Regions from separate parts of the Homo sapiens genome. Here regions 1, 3, 4, 5 and 6 are each linked to region 2. Evidence: promoter capture Hi-C in 16 types of primary human blood cells and fetal thymus (Javierre and others, 2016). All regions are on one chromosome and are shown on one strand. The core of a region is centred on a gene start or on the middle of the fragment in contact, and the rest is flanking DNA. Distances in the headings are between cores, read along the strand shown. Region 1 overlaps PPM1K (protein phosphatase, Mg2+/Mn2+ dependent 1K). Region 2 holds the start of PIGY (phosphatidylinositol glycan anchor biosynthesis class Y). Region 3 overlaps PKD2 (polycystin 2, transient receptor potential cation channel). Region 4 overlaps FAM13A (family with sequence similarity 13 member A). Region 5 has its middle 51 kb from the start of PPM1K. Region 6 overlaps PKD2 (polycystin 2, transient receptor potential cation channel).

What was found. The method cuts DNA at HindIII sites, captures the fragments that hold promoters and counts their contacts. A CHiCAGO score of 5 or more calls a contact.
Region 1: a contact is called between a fragment that was not itself captured here and the fragment with the promoter of PIGY in region 2, in 8 of 17 cell types (naive CD4 T cells, total CD8 T cells, non-activated CD4 T cells and 5 more). The highest score is 7.8, in naive CD4 T cells.
Region 3: a fragment that was not itself captured here is called in contact with the fragment with the promoter of PIGY in region 2 in 2 of 17 cell types (megakaryocytes and monocytes); the score reaches 5.6 in megakaryocytes.
Region 4: a fragment that was not itself captured here is called in contact with the fragment with the promoter of PIGY in region 2 in 2 of 17 cell types (naive B cells and total B cells); the score reaches 5.8 in naive B cells.
Region 5: a contact is called between a fragment that was not itself captured here and the fragment with the promoter of PIGY in region 2, in 14 of 17 cell types (naive CD8 T cells, activated CD4 T cells, total CD4 T cells and 11 more). The highest score is 13.5, in naive CD8 T cells.
Region 6: a fragment that was not itself captured here is called in contact with the fragment with the promoter of PIGY in region 2 in 8 of 17 cell types (monocytes, naive CD8 T cells, megakaryocytes and 5 more); the score reaches 8.5 in monocytes.

Annotation. Positions count from the first base shown.
Region 1 is chr4:88,258,916-88,261,615 of GRCh38, forward strand. It overlaps PPM1K (protein phosphatase, Mg2+/Mn2+ dependent 1K), which reads right to left. Exons shown (of 7, transcript NM_152542.5): 7 at 1-2,700. Among named protein-coding and RNA genes, the nearest start is that of PPM1K, 24 kb to the right of the region's middle. The HindIII fragment of the contact is 998 bases long and covers 839-1,836 here.
Region 2 is chr4:88,522,440-88,525,139 of GRCh38, forward strand. It overlaps PIGY (phosphatidylinositol glycan anchor biosynthesis class Y), which reads right to left and starts at 1,337. Exons shown (of 2, transcript NM_001042616.3): 1 at 1,059-1,337. It overlaps PYURF (PIGY upstream open reading frame), which reads right to left and starts at 1,337. Exons shown (of 2, transcript NM_032906.5): 1 at 1,059-1,337. The coding sequence starts at 1,261. It overlaps PIGY-DT (PIGY divergent transcript), which reads left to right and starts at 1,371. Exons shown (of 2, transcript NR_134663.1): 1 at 1,371-1,493; 2 at 2,326-2,552. It also overlaps a transcript of HERC3 not described here. RefSeq lists an enhancer at 635-694. The HindIII fragment of the contact is 19,176 bases long and covers 1-2,700 here.
Region 3 is chr4:88,060,920-88,063,619 of GRCh38, forward strand. PKD2 (polycystin 2, transient receptor potential cation channel) reads left to right here. Exons shown (of 15, transcript NM_000297.4): 10 at 987-1,085. Among named protein-coding and RNA genes, the nearest start is that of PKD2, 55 kb to the left of the region's middle. The HindIII fragment of the contact is 6,084 bases long and covers 1-2,700 here.
Region 4 is chr4:88,998,327-89,001,026 of GRCh38, forward strand. All of the region lies in intron 3 of FAM13A (family with sequence similarity 13 member A), which reads right to left. Among named protein-coding and RNA genes, the nearest start is that of FAM13A, 58 kb to the right of the region's middle. The HindIII fragment of the contact is 1,559 bases long and covers 498-2,056 here.
Region 5 is chr4:88,231,824-88,234,523 of GRCh38, forward strand. No RefSeq gene overlaps it. Among named protein-coding and RNA genes, the nearest start is that of PPM1K, 51 kb to the right of the region's middle. The HindIII fragment of the contact is 2,096 bases long and covers 382-2,477 here.
Region 6 is chr4:88,019,099-88,021,798 of GRCh38, forward strand. It overlaps PKD2 (polycystin 2, transient receptor potential cation channel), which reads left to right. Exons shown (of 15, transcript NM_000297.4): 2 at 360-473. Among named protein-coding and RNA genes, the nearest start is that of PKD2, 13 kb to the left of the region's middle. The HindIII fragment of the contact is 1,370 bases long and covers 662-2,031 here.

The DNA.
Region 1 (2,700 bases), core at 88-2,587, 260 kb before region 2:
CTCTACTAAAAATACAAAAAAATTAGCCGGGCACGGTGGCGGACGCCTGTAATTCCAGCTACTCGGGAGGCTGAGGCAGGAGAATGGCGTGAACCCAGGAGGCGCAGCTTGCAGTGAGCCGAGATCGTGCCACTGCACTCCAGCCTGGGTGACAGAGAGAGACTCCTTCTCAAAAAAAAAAAAGAAAAAAAAATACAAAAATTAGCCAGGGGTGGTGGCACGCGCCTGTAGTCCCAGCTACTCAGGAGGCTGAGGCAGAAGAATCGTTTGAACCCGGGAGGCAGAGGTTGCAGGGAGCCGAGACCGCACCACTGTACTCCAGCCTGTGTGACAGAGTGAGACTCCATCTCAAAAAAAAAAAAAAAGAAATACAAAATCTGTAACAAACGAACAGCTGATGGAGAACAGGACAGCATTTACTTCTGAATCTATAAAGTACTTAAGAACTTATACTTGTGGAAAATCACAATGACAATGAATATTTCACCAAATAGATGGTGGCAAATAGTTTGGCAACACATATTAGAAAGGTGATTTCTATACTACACATAAATGAAAGACAAACCGAACCACAATTGATGTTTTACTACATTAATGTAATTTACACTATGCCTATACCCACATGGCAAATTCAGTTATAACTGAAAAACTAGAGCAGTCCCTTTTTTTTTACTATGATTTGCATATTTTCCAGTATCCTAATACATGCATACTTATCTTTTATAGATTATAATAATCTACATTTAAAATTCCATTTTAATATTGTGGCATGAAAAATACAAACACCAATACAGTATGTTTTATGCTTACTCAAAGTTAACTGGCTCAGAGTTTTAAAAGCTTTCCCGGATAAAGCAGAGTCAAGTCTACCCTATATCCCCATCCTATAAATTCCTCTTTGTCGAACCTGGCAATCTCAGTGAGCTATGATTGCACCACTGCACTTCAGCCTGGACAACAAAGTGAGACTCTGTAACTATAAAAAACAAAAACAGACAAACTTGGCTATCTACCTCAATCCATCAATCACCCTCATGCCTTTGAACTTGACAACATCACTCCTCATCTTAGTTTTTAAAGTAAAAGATAGGAATAGTAATGTAAAGCATTCAAAACAAAAATGAAACCTGCATATTTGTTTATTTATTTATCTGAGATGGAGTTTTTGCTCTGCTGTCCAGGCTGGAGTGCAATGGCGCGATCTCGACTCACTGCAACCTCCGCCTCCCAGGTTCAAGCAATTCTCCTTCCTCAGCCTCCCCAGTAGCTGGGATTACAGGCACCCACCACCACGCCTGGCTAATTTTTGCATTTTTTGGTCAAGATGAGGTTTCACCATGTTGGCCAGGCTGGTCTCTAACTCTTGACCTCAGGTGATCCACCTGCCTTGGCCTCCCAAAGTGCTAGGATTACAGGCTTGAGCCACCGCGCCTGGCTGAAACCTGCATCTTCAGAATGTCATTTTTGTGCGTTAGTTTTCCTTTGCCTGTTGGTTTGGAAATTCTCCATGTTCCTAAAGGTAGCTTCCACATTTCTGTTCCAAGAACTGATTAGAAAAAGCAAGATGGTTTCCCGCTTTAGTTGCCTCCCTTTGGTTCCTCACCTCTCAGACAACAAACAGAATGTTAACAGTCTTTCCTGTGATGTTTTTCCTTCTTTCACCTAACTTCCCTTGAAAAAAAAAATCAAAATATTTATTTAGCACTTTTTTCAAAGGGCAATTCCTGATTAATATAGGCAGAAAAACTCAAGATTTATCTTCTTCCATTTCCAAAAAGGTAAGAAGATGTAAATATTTATATTGGGCCCTCTCCCTCCTCATACATTTTTACCCAAAGCTTAAAGAAAAAAAAAAAAGTCAACTCAAAACACAGTTGAAGGTATATACTACATCAACTTTTTCTTTTGTTTCTGCCACAGAATTCCATGTCATTCTTAAGATTCAGTATTTTTCTCACATCCTATTACTTTATATACAAATTGCCATATAGCAATTTTTAACCTATTTCCTCATCTGCTGATAATCACTGGGTCTCCACTATAAGAAAATTGCCCCTAGTTTGTCAAGAGTCCTTAAAAATAACGTATCAATAATTTAAAACTGGTGAAAGAGCTATGCAAGATTGTTCCCTTTAATTTTATATTACTCTAAAATATACATATGTACACATACTCACACATATAACAAATTTACATAGTTTGCAGAAATAAACTACGGAAATAATTCCAAATACACATTTAGAAATTCACATTTTAACAGCAAACTTACATGCAGATAAAGAGAAGTATAGTTTTATACTTCCTAAGTTACACAGCAAGCTGAAATGGAGAATGTTTTAATGGTCATTTTAGATTTATTCTTTCTCCTAAGTCTTAGAAAATGAGCAAAAAGGAGACATAAAACTCAAGCTATGTCTATAGCAGTATCAGTCAATGTGGTATTATTTTTATTAACAAATTATTCAATTGCTTACTCTATACAAAAAGTGATATACACATACTATAATACTATATGCAAAACACAAAATAGCGTTAGAGATAACAAATGAGAACTTCATACAAAATACTTGATTCCATCAGTATTTAACTTTTGACCGGAAGACTCAGCCTGTGCATTCTTTTCTGATATTAAGGAATAGTCACATTTTTACAGTATTCTTAACTACAGAAAAATAGGAATAAATGGAGGGGAGGGCTGAT
Region 2 (2,700 bases), core at 87-2,586:
AGAAACTTAACTAATCCATTAGAAGGAAATCACTGGAAAAGGTGAGAGGGCAGAAATGAAGAAACTTTCGAAAGCACTAAGTCTGCAGTGAGCTAGTTATAAACGTAAATCAAATGATAATTTCAAGGTTCGAGAAAATTGAATAATATGTTTATTACGGGAAAAAGAAATACGAAAAATTGCTAGCAATCTACCATTCAAAGATAACCACTGATAACATTTTGGTGTTTATGCGATTTGTAATACTAGCGTTAGTGTTGTCAATATTCAATTTTGGTAGCTTGGAAACTGTAGAGCTGTCTTCCCAAAAACTAGTTAAAGAGGCTTCTACGAAACCTGCTAGGCCACAACTAAGAGCCACTGGGCAGCAAACACAGCTGAATTGCTTAAGATTGTCAGGCACCAGTTGTACAAGACACTTTCACAAGAATCTGGAGGGTACAACAATACTTTTCATTATCTTGGCTTAAAAACCGGAAGGCTTCGGACTTGTCCTGAATCGCAGTGGTTCATAAACCTGGTGGTACATTAGAAATCATTTAGGGACCGTTTAAGAACACAGATAAGCTGGGCGTGGGGGCGGCGCCTGTCTCTCGACTCCTGAGGAGGCTGAGGCGGGAGTTCTAGGCCAGTCTGGGCAACGTAGGGGGCACCCTGTCTCTTAAAAGGAAAAAAAAAAAGGAAAAGAAAATACAAATGTTCAGGTCCCATCCCGCGAGCATTCCAAGTCTGCCCGTCTTGGGGGCTGTCGGGGAATCGGCATTTTTAAAACGGTCCCCGGGTGATTGCAATGCGCAGCCGGTCGCGAACCCTAAAACGCTTCGAGCCATTCCCGCAGGCTGGCGTTGCGTTCTGGGAGATGTGGGACGCAGCTCCCCTGGCCTCCGGTCTCCCCCGTCCTGCCCGCTGTGCGCCCGGCGAGGACAGAGTCCAGAATGTGGCAGCGGAGAGTACCTGACCGACCTACAAGGCCCCAGTGGCTGCAAGAGGCCGCGGTCCACCGCTCCCTTTCCGCCCACCGGGAGGCTGCAAAGGAAGGGCCAAGGCCAGCGAGTTACCTGAGCGGCTTCTTGGAGAGCGGGCACACCAGGAACTCCAGCAGCGCCGGATCGAAGTCGCGGGGCGGCTCCTCAGTCTTCTTGCCCCGGTCGGCCAAAGGCCGCGACCCCGACGCGTGCAGGCACCTACGGGCGACCGCGGACGGCGGCGCGCGCGTTCCCCGCAGCGCTGAGGCGAGCCTGCAGCGTGCTCCACTCAGCATGGTCTGGCAGCCGGAGACCAGGCCTCACCGCAGCCTCGCCACCCGTGGCCGAGCTCCCGGCTTCCCGTTCGTCCAGGCCAGCCGGGCAGGCCCCGCCCCCTGGTCCTCCAGGAAACGCTGCCGAGGAGTAGGCGGGGCGGGCGCTTTGGTTCCGAGGGTGCTTCTGCTCCGACTGCTTTTCCCACGGGCGTCATCTATAGTCCGGAGGACAGCCCCAGGGCAGAGGCCTCTGGTGAGTGCCCCGCCGCCTTACCAGACTACAAACTAAACCAGTGTTTAAGTCAAGGTGTCTGGGTTTTCACCGGGGCCTGTCCAAGGATGCTAGGAAGCCAGTGGCCAGGCCTCAGAGTTGTAGGGAGTTAGGCTTGGACCTACGTGGTTACCTCCAAGTGAAGTTTCAAACACACTGTTATGTATTGTACCGAATGTATTGTCATGGATGTATTGAAAGCGCTCATTTGTTTCATGTACATCTTTACTATACCATTAGTTTCTGTAACCTTGTTTGGCTTTTTTCTCTCTCATTAAAAAAAGTGAGAACCTGGAAGGAAGGGCCTAGGCCTCTGACCCTCCAAAATATATAAATTCTTCCTGCCTGAGACCCAGTCATTGTGAAGTATTTGCGTAATAAAGCACAGCTAATTTACTTCTATAAATGAGCTTGGAGGCCGCAAGGGGCCTAAATAGCTGTGTAACAGGCAGATGTGATCTGCCTGTTAAAGATCCATTCAATGAGTGGGTGATCCATTCAGTGAATTTGTATCCCAGGTTTGCTTCCCACTCTCCAAGAAAGTGACCATGTTAGATCTCTTTCTTACAGTGTAGTAGATGGGAACTTGGGCTCTGGGGCCTGACAGCTTGGTTCCCTGTCCACAATTAGTAGCTGGATGACTTTGGCAAATGACTTAACTGCTCATTTTCCTTATCTGTATAAGACTAATAATTGTACCTACCTTGTAGGTAGGGCATAAATGTGATTGTGCATTCGAAGAACATTTAGAAAAGTGCCTGGCACAAATTAATGCTCCATTAATGTTGTCTATTTTTATTTTTAGTTCATCTAGTTTTTCCATGTCCGAAGACTCAAAGATTCTCATTAGTCATCCATTTTTTCCCTCCGTTCTGCTGAATATCAACCTGAACTTTTTTTTTGCATCACTGGGCATTATCATTTCACACTTTGAGTTCCTGGAGCTGGAAGTACAGAATCCAAAAATATGTTTATATTTTCAAATTTCTCTTCCACTCCAATGTAAAAATAAACTGACAAATGTTTATATGTTCATCCTAATTTTTTGTTTGTTTTTTGGGCCATCCTGTTTTTTTTAAAAAAAACAGTTTATTTTTTGATGTTCTTTGTTCACTAATGCTCAGAAGATTTTCTAAGGTTAATGTAGTTTATAGGATACCAAAAAGGAAACACTTCTACTGGATAGATA
Region 3 (2,700 bases), core at 174-2,673, 460 kb before region 2:
TTAATGTAAAACAATTAAATAATTCTTTAAAATTAGACTTAGAAAAGTGGAGCAACAATCTTAGCAGTGCTAGGACTGAAATCCAAGTTTGCTTGACTCCAAAGTCTATCTCTCTTCCAGAAACTTTTTCTTTACTATCTGCCTAGTAGGCCTGCTGTATTCCTATTTGCAACAGCCTTTTAAACTCTTTAAAAATGTGTCCTGTAAATTTCATATATGATTATACAAAAAAACTTGGAATAAGCATACAATTCTACTTATCTGTGTTAACTGTTGAAATTTGAAGAGCTTTTTGGAATTCTATACCCTTCAGTAGTGTATGTAAAAGTTTCTAAATATAGAGAACATAGATAAGCAAAAATAATATTAAATAAAATAATCGCACCATTAGTAGGTAAATATACTAATATTTTGTTGTATTTTATTCTTGTATGTTTTCACAAAGTATATCATAAAATTTTTCCTGTGGCATGACTTAACGGAGAAAATAATCTTCCCAAAACATGTGGCAGCAAAACTGTTAATTTATTACATCAGGCTGGGCACAGTGGCTCACGCTTGCAATCCCAGCACTTTGGGAAGCCGAGGCGGGCAGATCACTTGAGGCCAGGAGTTCGAGACCAGCCTGGCCAACGTGGTGAAACACTGTCTCTACTAAAAATACAACAGTTAGCCAGGTGTAGTGGCACATGCCTGTAATCCCAGCTACTCAGGAGGCTGAGACTCAAGAATTGCTTGAACCCAGGAGGCAGAGGTTGCAGTAAGCTGAGGTCGCGCCCCTGCACTCCAGCCTGGGCAACACAGTGAGACTCTGTCTCAAAAAAAAAAATTTTTTTTTAAATAAATAAATAATAAATTTATGTCTTCATAAAGCACTCAGATTAGGAAAAAAAGGATAAACAAAAAGGCATGTGTCATTTTTTTGATTGATAATTCCAAATTATGTTTCTTCCTTTAATTTTTGCCCTCCTTTCATTTACAAACAGAATATGTTTTTGGCTATCATCAATGATACTTACTCTGAAGTGAAATCTGACTTGGCACAGCAGAAAGCTGAAATGGAACTCTCAGATCTTATCAGAAAGGTAGGAAAAACCTTAATTCTCAGAATTCTTCTGTTTCTGACATAAAATGAGCATTGTTTCACCCAGATTTTCAAATCAACATTGATCCATTGAAATTGTTTGAAATAAAGAATACATTGCTATATTTCAGGAATAATTTAAATGTTCCCTATCTTGGAGTCTTGATGGATATACTGCTATCTTGAATTTTAATTCTGGGAATCCTTTTATGCCCTGGAATTAAATTCTCAACAATCTTTTGACACTTTAAGAGCTGAGCTGAAGGTTCATCACCTTCATTATTTTGACATCTCCTGTAGCTGGCTCTCACTTCAGGATCCTGAGTTGAGAATAAACTAGAAGGGAAGATTATATAAAGGGATTTCCACCTCTTCTGTCTCAATTACCATTTTAAAAAAATAAAAAGTTTTAGAGGAAAACACTTAGTAGTTCACCCTTTACCCTTGACCTTCCACGGCAGTTTTAAAATAAGCAAAGGAAAAGATTCATGAATTCAGGCCATAGCCTGGGGCCTGAGAACTTTTACTTATGCACCTTCTCAGGAAGGGTTTCATTGTTAAATAGAAGGGCAGGACAGGAAAGTTGGGCCTCTTTGTTCTTCTCAATGTAACTTCTTTATTTGGTTTAAAGTATAAAATGTATACAACAACAAATAACCACATTTAAAATACACAGTTTGTTTCCCAACATCATTTTGCTAAGTCATAGTGGCTCCTTAACTGTAATTTTTTTTTTTATTAGTCCAAGCCTTAGGATTATGTTATCTGTGATATATGTTATAATAGAAAACTTAAGCCTCTTAAAACAAAGTCCTTGGGATGGGACCTAAGATTCACATTATCTTGATTCCGCATAACAGTTGCTTACATTTTAGCAAATCTCCAGTGTGTATGCAAGCACTCCTCACTTGGCACAATTCTGATACACACAAACTTTGGTTACCCCAGTTTTGTTATGTAACACCACCTTCAACAACACAGTTCAAATTTCAGTTATCATAGTATATTAACTCTGAGTAACAGCACAAAGTACAAACTCCACTGCTAGCTCTTCAGTGTATAGATCAGTTACCTGAGTAACAGATGTGCAGGCTGAGCAGGCTCACTGGTCAGTCATGACACTATTTTCAGTCTGTTACTAATTGGTCACTGAGCATCTGCTATCCAATTCACAAACAAAGAAAGCATGTAGTGTTGCTTCCTTGTGTTCCAGTAATAAGCCCATGTGACATTTTACAAAAATGGATAATTGAAAAAGAGAATGGGTGCAGTGGCTCACGCATGTTGGGAGGCCAAGGCGGATGGATCACCTGAGGTCAGGAGTTCGAAACCAGCCTGGCCAACATGGTGAAACCCCATCTCTACTAAAAATACAAAATTAGCTGAGTGTGGCGACAGATGCCTGTAATCCCAGCTACTGGGGAGGCTGAGGCAGGAGAATCGCTTGCACCTAGGAGGCGGAGGTTGCAGTGAGCCGAGATCGTGCCATTGCACTCCAGCCTGGGTAACAAGAGCGAAACTCCGTCTCAAAAAAAAAAAAGAAAAGAAAAGAAAAGAAAAAGAGAATGGGCTAGCAAAGAAATGAAAAATGGTAACACTGGAAGTGAAAATCAAAA
Region 4 (2,700 bases), core at 27-2,526, 480 kb after region 2:
GCCTGTCCACATTCACCCAGGTACCAAATAGCTGAGCTACAATTTAAATCCAAGTGCCCAGGACCTCATAACATACAATTTGATCAGCATACTCTTACAAAGTTAGCTATTATTGTTATCATTATTACAGAGCAGCTAACACCATGTCTCATGTATGTAAATATTTAAGAAATGTTTCCTGAATTAATCAATCAATAAACAAATCTGTTGTGTAGTGGAGAGGTGGGAATCTTAATTAATTTGTGAGAAACTATAGCTTCGTAAATTCTCAGGGCTTGTGGAGAAATAAAATTTTAATAGAAACCTATAAGGCTGCATGGGCACAAAATATAAACTACATAAGAATAAACAAAACATGAATTATATTTCTTTCTAAATATGTATTTACAGAAGAATGAGAAAAATAATTATGAAATGCCAGCTGTACAGAATCAGACTGGGTTTTACCTCCGCATTTCATTCCCCAAGACTGGAATCACTTCTTTGGAGTGATGAGAAGCTTATATAGGCAACAGAATTTCATTTTCCTATGCAAAAGGAGGGATTATGTTTCTTACAAATCTCTTACAACCTCATGACCATGATATGGTTCTCAGAGGCCTCACGTAAATTTCTCAAAGGGCAGACTGATAAAGTGACTAATAAAAATTAATAAATTACCCTCTATTCTTAGAGGTTATTAGTGAAACTACGAATCTTATCATTCTGATTAGATTCTGCAAAATGCAGAGGTATGTTTATTGCCAAATTAGTCAATATTTACAGTGATCCTCCTGTTCCCAGAGAGAACCTGTATGTCCAAGAGCAAAGGCCTGCAGGAAGAACAAAGAATTAGGTGATATTTTACACTTTAGTCCTATAACCAAAACAAACTCCTGATAATGCCTAAATAGTATCTCAGCATATTTATTTTGTGAGTATTTATTGGGTACTGAATGCTTGTCAGTCGGGACAGGTGGTGTACATAAAAATATAAAATAGTCTAAATTATAAAGCTGGAACCTCATATCTACAATAAAGGTTAGACACAAGCATTTAGCAGCTGAAGAACTTATTTGTATGAGAATTTATGTACCGAGGAGACTGGAAAAAACAAACAGCATATAGGACAGAGAGCCTCACACAATGTAAAATGCTAATCTGAAACAATATTGGCAGTATCTCAGCTAATAAAACTAGGCTTTCTCCATCAATCTAGCACTACATTAAATGGGCCAAGTACAGTAAATATATAGTTTCAGATGAAATCATACTACCACCAGTTGGTTTTTTTCTAGGCACTACTGGTTAAATGCTCAGCTATAAGTGGCCTGTAAGTGGATTTGGTGCCATATGAGTTAAACCAAGCCCAGAGTTACTTAAGCCTATTTGTATGTCCTCTTACCCCTCCTTTCTCCCCTAAGGGCCTCAAATTGTTTATGGACTCATTGTAAAAGGTTGATTATTTCCATGGGTTCAGTAAAGCAGGTGTTCAAAACACGGCTTGACAGAGTTAGGGCAGAGCTCTAAGTGGCTAGCAAGCTAATCATCTGGCTATCCCTTCAACTGATATTCTTTAACCAAATTTTTAATATTTTTTATGTAGATTGATTTTCTGTTAATACAAGTTGTATACTTTTTAAATAACTCACTTGTTGACTATGTCTTTTCTTCTTCCAACATAAAAGCATTACTAAAAAAACAAAGAACTTACTGAGGATTTCACCCAGCTCACAATTAATTCCATAATATCCCCAATGGGCCTCTTCTTGGCCTTGGAGCTGCTGGGTATCCTGCTTTTCCTCTTCAAGCCTATAATCTTTCTAAAACTATGTTAGAAAATAGTTACTCAAAATAAAGTTACAATATAACATAGCAATTACAGGTAGATACTCAAGAGAAATGAAAGCATATATCCACACAAAAACTTGTACATAAATGTTCATAACAGCCAAAAAATGGAAATAACCCAAATTTCCATCAACATGAATGGATAAGTAAAATATCGTATATTCATACTATAGAATATTAACCAGCCATAGGAATGCAGTACTGATATATGTGACACCACAGATAAAGCTTGAAACATTATGCTAGATCAAAGAAGCCAGTCACAAAGTACCACATACTGTGTGATTCCATTTATGAAATGTCCATAGAAGCAAATGTTTATAGAAAGAAAGTAGACTGGTCTTTGCCTAAGGATGTGGGTGGTGGGAGGAGGGAGGAATGGGGAGTGACTGCTAATGGGCATACGGTTTCTTTCTGGGGTCATAAAAATGTTTGAAAGTTAGATAATGGTGATGGTTGCACTTTGTGAATAGATCAAAAACCACTGAATTGTACACTTTAAGAAGGTCAATTTATGGTGGGTAATTTATATACCAATAAAGCTGTTATAAAGAAATTCTGTTGACTTCAAAATCAAGCATGGGAAAAAATTAAGCATGGGAAAAGAAAGTCAGAGGAGACCTTTCAGATAAAGATGACAGATCATTTCAGTTAAAGATGAGTGTACCTACTTCTCCTCCTAATATCCCACTAAAATGACAATTTTTTTAAAAGAATAAGTCCTCAAGGATAAAGAGAATAGCCTAAAACATGACAGTAGATGGAAGATTTTAACAAATGTACATATGCACGCACACATGTGCACACAATCATGTTTCAAGATGAGTTGTTCTTATATGGAATAATTTGCTCAGTCATGGCTTCCCTTTC
Region 5 (2,700 bases), core at 180-2,679, 290 kb before region 2:
CCTAAACCAAAAGTAAAATAGGAAGTCAAGACTGTGCTAAATAGGCATTTCTCTCTCTCTCTCTCTCTCTCTGTGTGTGTGTGTGTGTGTGTGTGTGTGTGTGTATTTTAAATAGAGACGGGGTCTTGTTATATTGGCCAGGGTGGTCTCGAACTCCTGGCCTCCAGCAATCCTCCCACCTCAGCCTCCCAAAGTGTTGGGATCACAGGCATGAACCACCAAACCTGGCTTTTTTTTTTTTTTTTCTTAGGCAAGATCTCACTTTGTCACCCAGGCTGGAGTTAAATAGGCATTTCATATTCTGAAAACATGATAGATGTCAAAAGAAAAAATATGACATTTACTAAGTGCTTCTAATTCCACTGTTTACTGGCCTTGAAAAGCTTCTTAAGCCAAGCCTTCCCCAACAATAAAATAGTGATAACAATAATACCTTCCTTACAGAGTTGTCATGATAAATTTCATGAGATTCACAAAATACCGATTACTGAATTTGTCTTGCTGTTAAGTTCTGTTTATATTTAAGTCACTATCCTGATTATTCACTGTGTTGTGCAGTACCTAGGACAAATTAGGCATTTTGTAAATATTTATTGAAATGAAATGAACGTTTAAAAAATCTTGAAGTTGTTAAGAAATTCCATTTATCTATTTTTATAAATTTATTTTAATATGGTAAAATATGTATAACATAAAATTAGCCATTTGAAACATTTTAAGAGTTCAAGTCAGTAGCATTAATTACATTCACAATGTTGTGTCACCGTCACTGTTTCTAAGACTTTTTTGTCACCCCAAACAGATACTCTGTAATCATTAAGCAATAACTCCGTCAGGGATTTTTTTTTTCTGTTTAATTTTAAATTTTTATTTCTTGTAGGTACATAGTAGGTGTATATATTTATGGGGTACATGAGATATTTTCATACAGGCACACAATGTGTGGTAATCTCATCAGGGTAAATGGGGTATCCACCACCTCAAACATTTATCCTTTGTATTATAAGCAATCCAATTATACTTTTTTCATTTTATTTATTTATTTATTTATTTTTTTTGAGATGGGGTCTCACTCTAATGCCCAGGCTGGAGTGCAGCAGTATGATCTCAGCTCACTGCAACCTCCACCTCCAGGGTTCAAGCAATCCTCCTGCCTCAGCCTCCCAAGTAGCTGGGATTACAGGTGTGTGCCACCACATGTGACTAATGTGTTTTTGTTATTTTTAAGTGGACAATTAAATTATTTTTGACTACAGTCACATTGTCGTGCTAGCAAATACTAGGTCTTAATTATTTTTTCTAATTATTTTTTGTACCCATGAACCATCCCACTTCCCCCCACCTCCCCAATACTTTTCCCAGCCTCTGGTAACCATTCTTCCACTCTCTATCTCTATGAGTTCAATTGTTTTAATTTTTAGCTCCCACAAATAAGTAAGAACATGTTACGTTTGTGTCTCTGTGCTTGGCTTGTTTCACTTAACATAATTACCTTCAGTTCCATCTGTATTGTTGCAAATGATAGGATCTCATTCTTCTTTTTTTTGAGACAGTCTCGCTCTGTCACCCAGGCTGGAGTGCAGTGGTGCAAGCTCAGCTCACTGCAAGCTCCACCTTCCGAGTTCATGCCATTCTCCTGCCTCAGCCTCCCAAGTAGCTGGGACTACAGGCACCCGCCACCATGTGGGTATTTTTAGTAGAGACGGGGTTTCACTGCGTTAGCCAGGATGGTCTCAATCTCCTGAATTCGTGATCTGCCCACATCGGCCCCCAAAGTGCTGGGATTACAGGCATGAGCCACTGCACCTGGCCAGATCCCATTCTTTTTCATGGCTAAATAGCACTCCACTGTGTATATGTACCACATTTTCTTTATCCATTTGTCTGTTGATGGATACTTGGGTTGCTTCCAAATATTGGCTATTGTGAATACAGCTGCAACAAACATAGCAATGCAGATATCTCTTCAATATACGGATTTCTTTTCTTTTAGATTTATACCTAGGAGTGGGATTGCTGGATCATATGGTATCTCTACTTTTAGTTTTTTGAAAAACCTCCAAACTGTTCTCCATAGTGGATGTACTAATTTATGTTCCCACCAACAGTGTATGAGGGCTTTCTTTTCTCTATCCTCACCAGCATTTATTATTGACTGTCTTTTAGATAAAAGCCAGTTTAACTGGGGTGAGATGATATCTCATTGTAGTTTTGATTTGCATTTCTCTGATGATCAGTGATATTGAGAGCCTTTTCATATACCTGTTTGCCATTTGTACATCTTCTTTTGAGAAATGTCTATTCAAATCTTTCACCCATTTTATACTTAGGCTATTAGATATTTTTCCTATAGAGTTGTTTGAGCTCCTTGTATATTCTGGTTATTTATTCCATGTCAAATGGAGAGTTTACAGATATTTTCTCCCATTCTGTGGGTCGTCTCTTCACTTTGTGGATTGTTTCCTTTGCTGTACAGAAGCTTTTAAATTTGATATGGTCCCATCTGTCCATTTTTGCTTTGGTTGCCTGTGCTTCTGGGGTATTATTCAAGAAATCTTTGCCCAGTCCAATGTCCTGGAGAGTTTCCTCAAAGTTTTCTTTAGATAGATTCATAGTTTGAGGTCTTTAATCCATTTTGATTTGATTTTTGTATATGGTAAGAGATAGGGGTCTAGTTTCATTCTTCTGCATACAGATATC
Region 6 (2,700 bases), core at 97-2,596, 500 kb before region 2:
AGAACTGATAAGTTTTGCACAATTATTTAACTCCTCTGTTAGGCCTTCCTTATTTCCTGTTCTCTTTTTAAAATTTGACTAAGATATTGCTAATGGGCTTGGGAGCCTATAAAATGATCAGAATTGTTGCCTTATGTTTTGCATGTTTGGGGTAACATTGGAGCCAGATGTACTCTTAAATAAAAGGTAGGCCTACAAAACCAGTTTCTCAGTTGCATTCAAAATGTGATTAAAAAAAAAAAAAGGAGAATCTCCCTTATAGGTGAACTTTTTAATTTGTGCTTTATTTTCCCTTTTGCCATTCATGAGATTTCTTAAATAAAATGATATCTTTTCTTTTCTTCATTATTATTTTAAAGGTCTCTGGGGAACAAGACTCATGGAGGAAAGCAGCACTAACCGAGAGAAATACCTTAAAAGTGTTTTACGGGAACTGGTCACATACCTCCTTTTTCTCATAGTCTTGTGCATCTGTAAGTAGAATATTTCCTTGCACTAATGGGAAAGTTTTGAAAAGATTTGACCTATCCAAATCATAATTAAAAGGAAGTGTGTATGCACCAGAGGGGCAACTGGGAAGTTACCTTCTTACCTTTGTTTTTAATTCTAATATTTTTATTTGGGCATTTGTTTATTGACTATCTTCCTATGGTAGAATGCAAGCTTTATAAGAGAAGGGACGTGATTTGTTCTCTGCTGTACCCCCATTTCCCAAAACTGCAGATGGCAACAGAAGGCTCTGAAAAATATATAAGAAAGAATTTTTCTAATTGTGACTAAATTGTGACCAAATGCTAAGTGACTGTGGACTTGCGTTTAACACAGGACGGGAGAGGCAAAGAGTTCAATTCCAATTTAGAATTTGGTCAAGTTCTCTTCTGCACTCTGGTAAACATTAATTAAAAATCAGCATTATCTGACCAGCCAGTTCATCGTCAGTGGTGGTGATTTTCACTATGAGATACGCGTGGCAACTTGCCAGACACCAAGAAACCAAGTTAGAGGATTTTTGTATTAGATTCCTTAACAATGAATACAGTATCACCATTATTACAGTATCATCATTATTGTCATACTATTATTATATCAGTTAACATAAAGTCTGCATAAGAATTGTTTCCAGAAAAATGACTTTCCAAATTTAACTTTCAGGAAATACAAATAATGCTACTAATATTGCTTTTATTGGCGTATACATGTAATATCCCCTTCTTTTGGATTTGGATATGTTGTGTCATTGCCTCATTTTAATTCATTATTTCTTCTCAATCTTTAATAATTGCTGGACTTTTACTCCACAAGAAACTTGCTATAGGCCCATCTCTTTCGTCTTCTTTCCTTCTTTCAGTTCGTCTTCCCATCCTCTGGTAGGGGGAGGGGAGGGATGCCTGAGCGAGAGACTAGCTGTAGGAACCATTTGTCTCAAAGTCCAGAAAGCCACAGGTGATGGATTTGTCCTCTGAATCAAAGGGCGTTCGATGATGGATTTCTGTCATGTCTCATCTAAAGTCTTCACGAGAACAGATGAGGAAGCAGTTTTATGACCCCAGAGCCTCCTACCAAACTCCTCTGAGAAAAGGTTTCCTTTTTTTTTTTTTTTTTTAAATTAGAGACAGAGTCTTGATCTGTTTCACAGGCCGGAGTGCAGTGGCACAATCATAGCTCACTGCAGCCTCGAGCTCCTAGGCTTCAGTGATCCTCCCACCTCAGTCACCCACGTAGCTGGGACTACAGCTGCACACCACCATGCCCAGCTAACTTTTAAAACATTTTTGTAGAGGTGGGGTCTCACTTTGCTGCCTATACTGGTCTCCAGCTCCTAGCTTCAAGTGATCCTCCTGCCTTGGAAGTTCTGGGATTATAGGCATGAGCCACTGCACCCAGCCTGGATGTGATATTTTTATGTTTTAAATTGTTAGAGTTTAGAAACTTGAGATTGAGTTTGCTGCCTGCATTAAAATGATGCTTAAACATTAAACTGCAGTGGCCTTAAATATTAACAAGTTGATTAGAATTACTAAGTTCTTTTCAAGCTTTACATATACAGACAAATTTCTTATGCAAAATAGAAGGTAACCCCTGTACGTAAGTCTAGAATTTCAGCAGTCCCCAAAACTGACTGAGCATTAGAATCACTCTGATTTTAAAATACATATGTGGTTTTCCGAGATCTACTAACAGAGCCTCCATAATGTAGCCTAGAGAAACGAGTTTTCAGATGTAGTGATAAATTTGGAAGGTAAGTCAGAGAAGTAAGCTGAAGACAGAGTTTTAGGAAATATGCCTAAAGTCACATAATGAATTGGTTTTCTTGTTTATTTGAGAATATTGTCGCTTTTTGTTCTTTTTCATGCAAATCACATTTTATTTCTTATGTGAGTAGCTATATATTTAAAAATTTTGTTTTTGGAATATTGTAGAATCTCTACTTAAGAAAGTATCTTAGCAGTCATATGGTCTGACCTCACTGAATGCTAAATTCTCTTTAAAACATCCGTCTCAGATGGTTACTCATACTGCCTCTGATTGAACAAGAGTCCCAGGTTAAGGGACTTACTTCTTTGAAATCGTTCATTTCATTTTTCTACAGCTATGTTAGAAAGTTCGTCCTTAGCAGTGAAGCCAGAGTCTATCTCTTATAACTTCTACCCAGTTGCACCCTCCAAGCCTACCTATACCAAGTATCTTTTTTCCACGTTG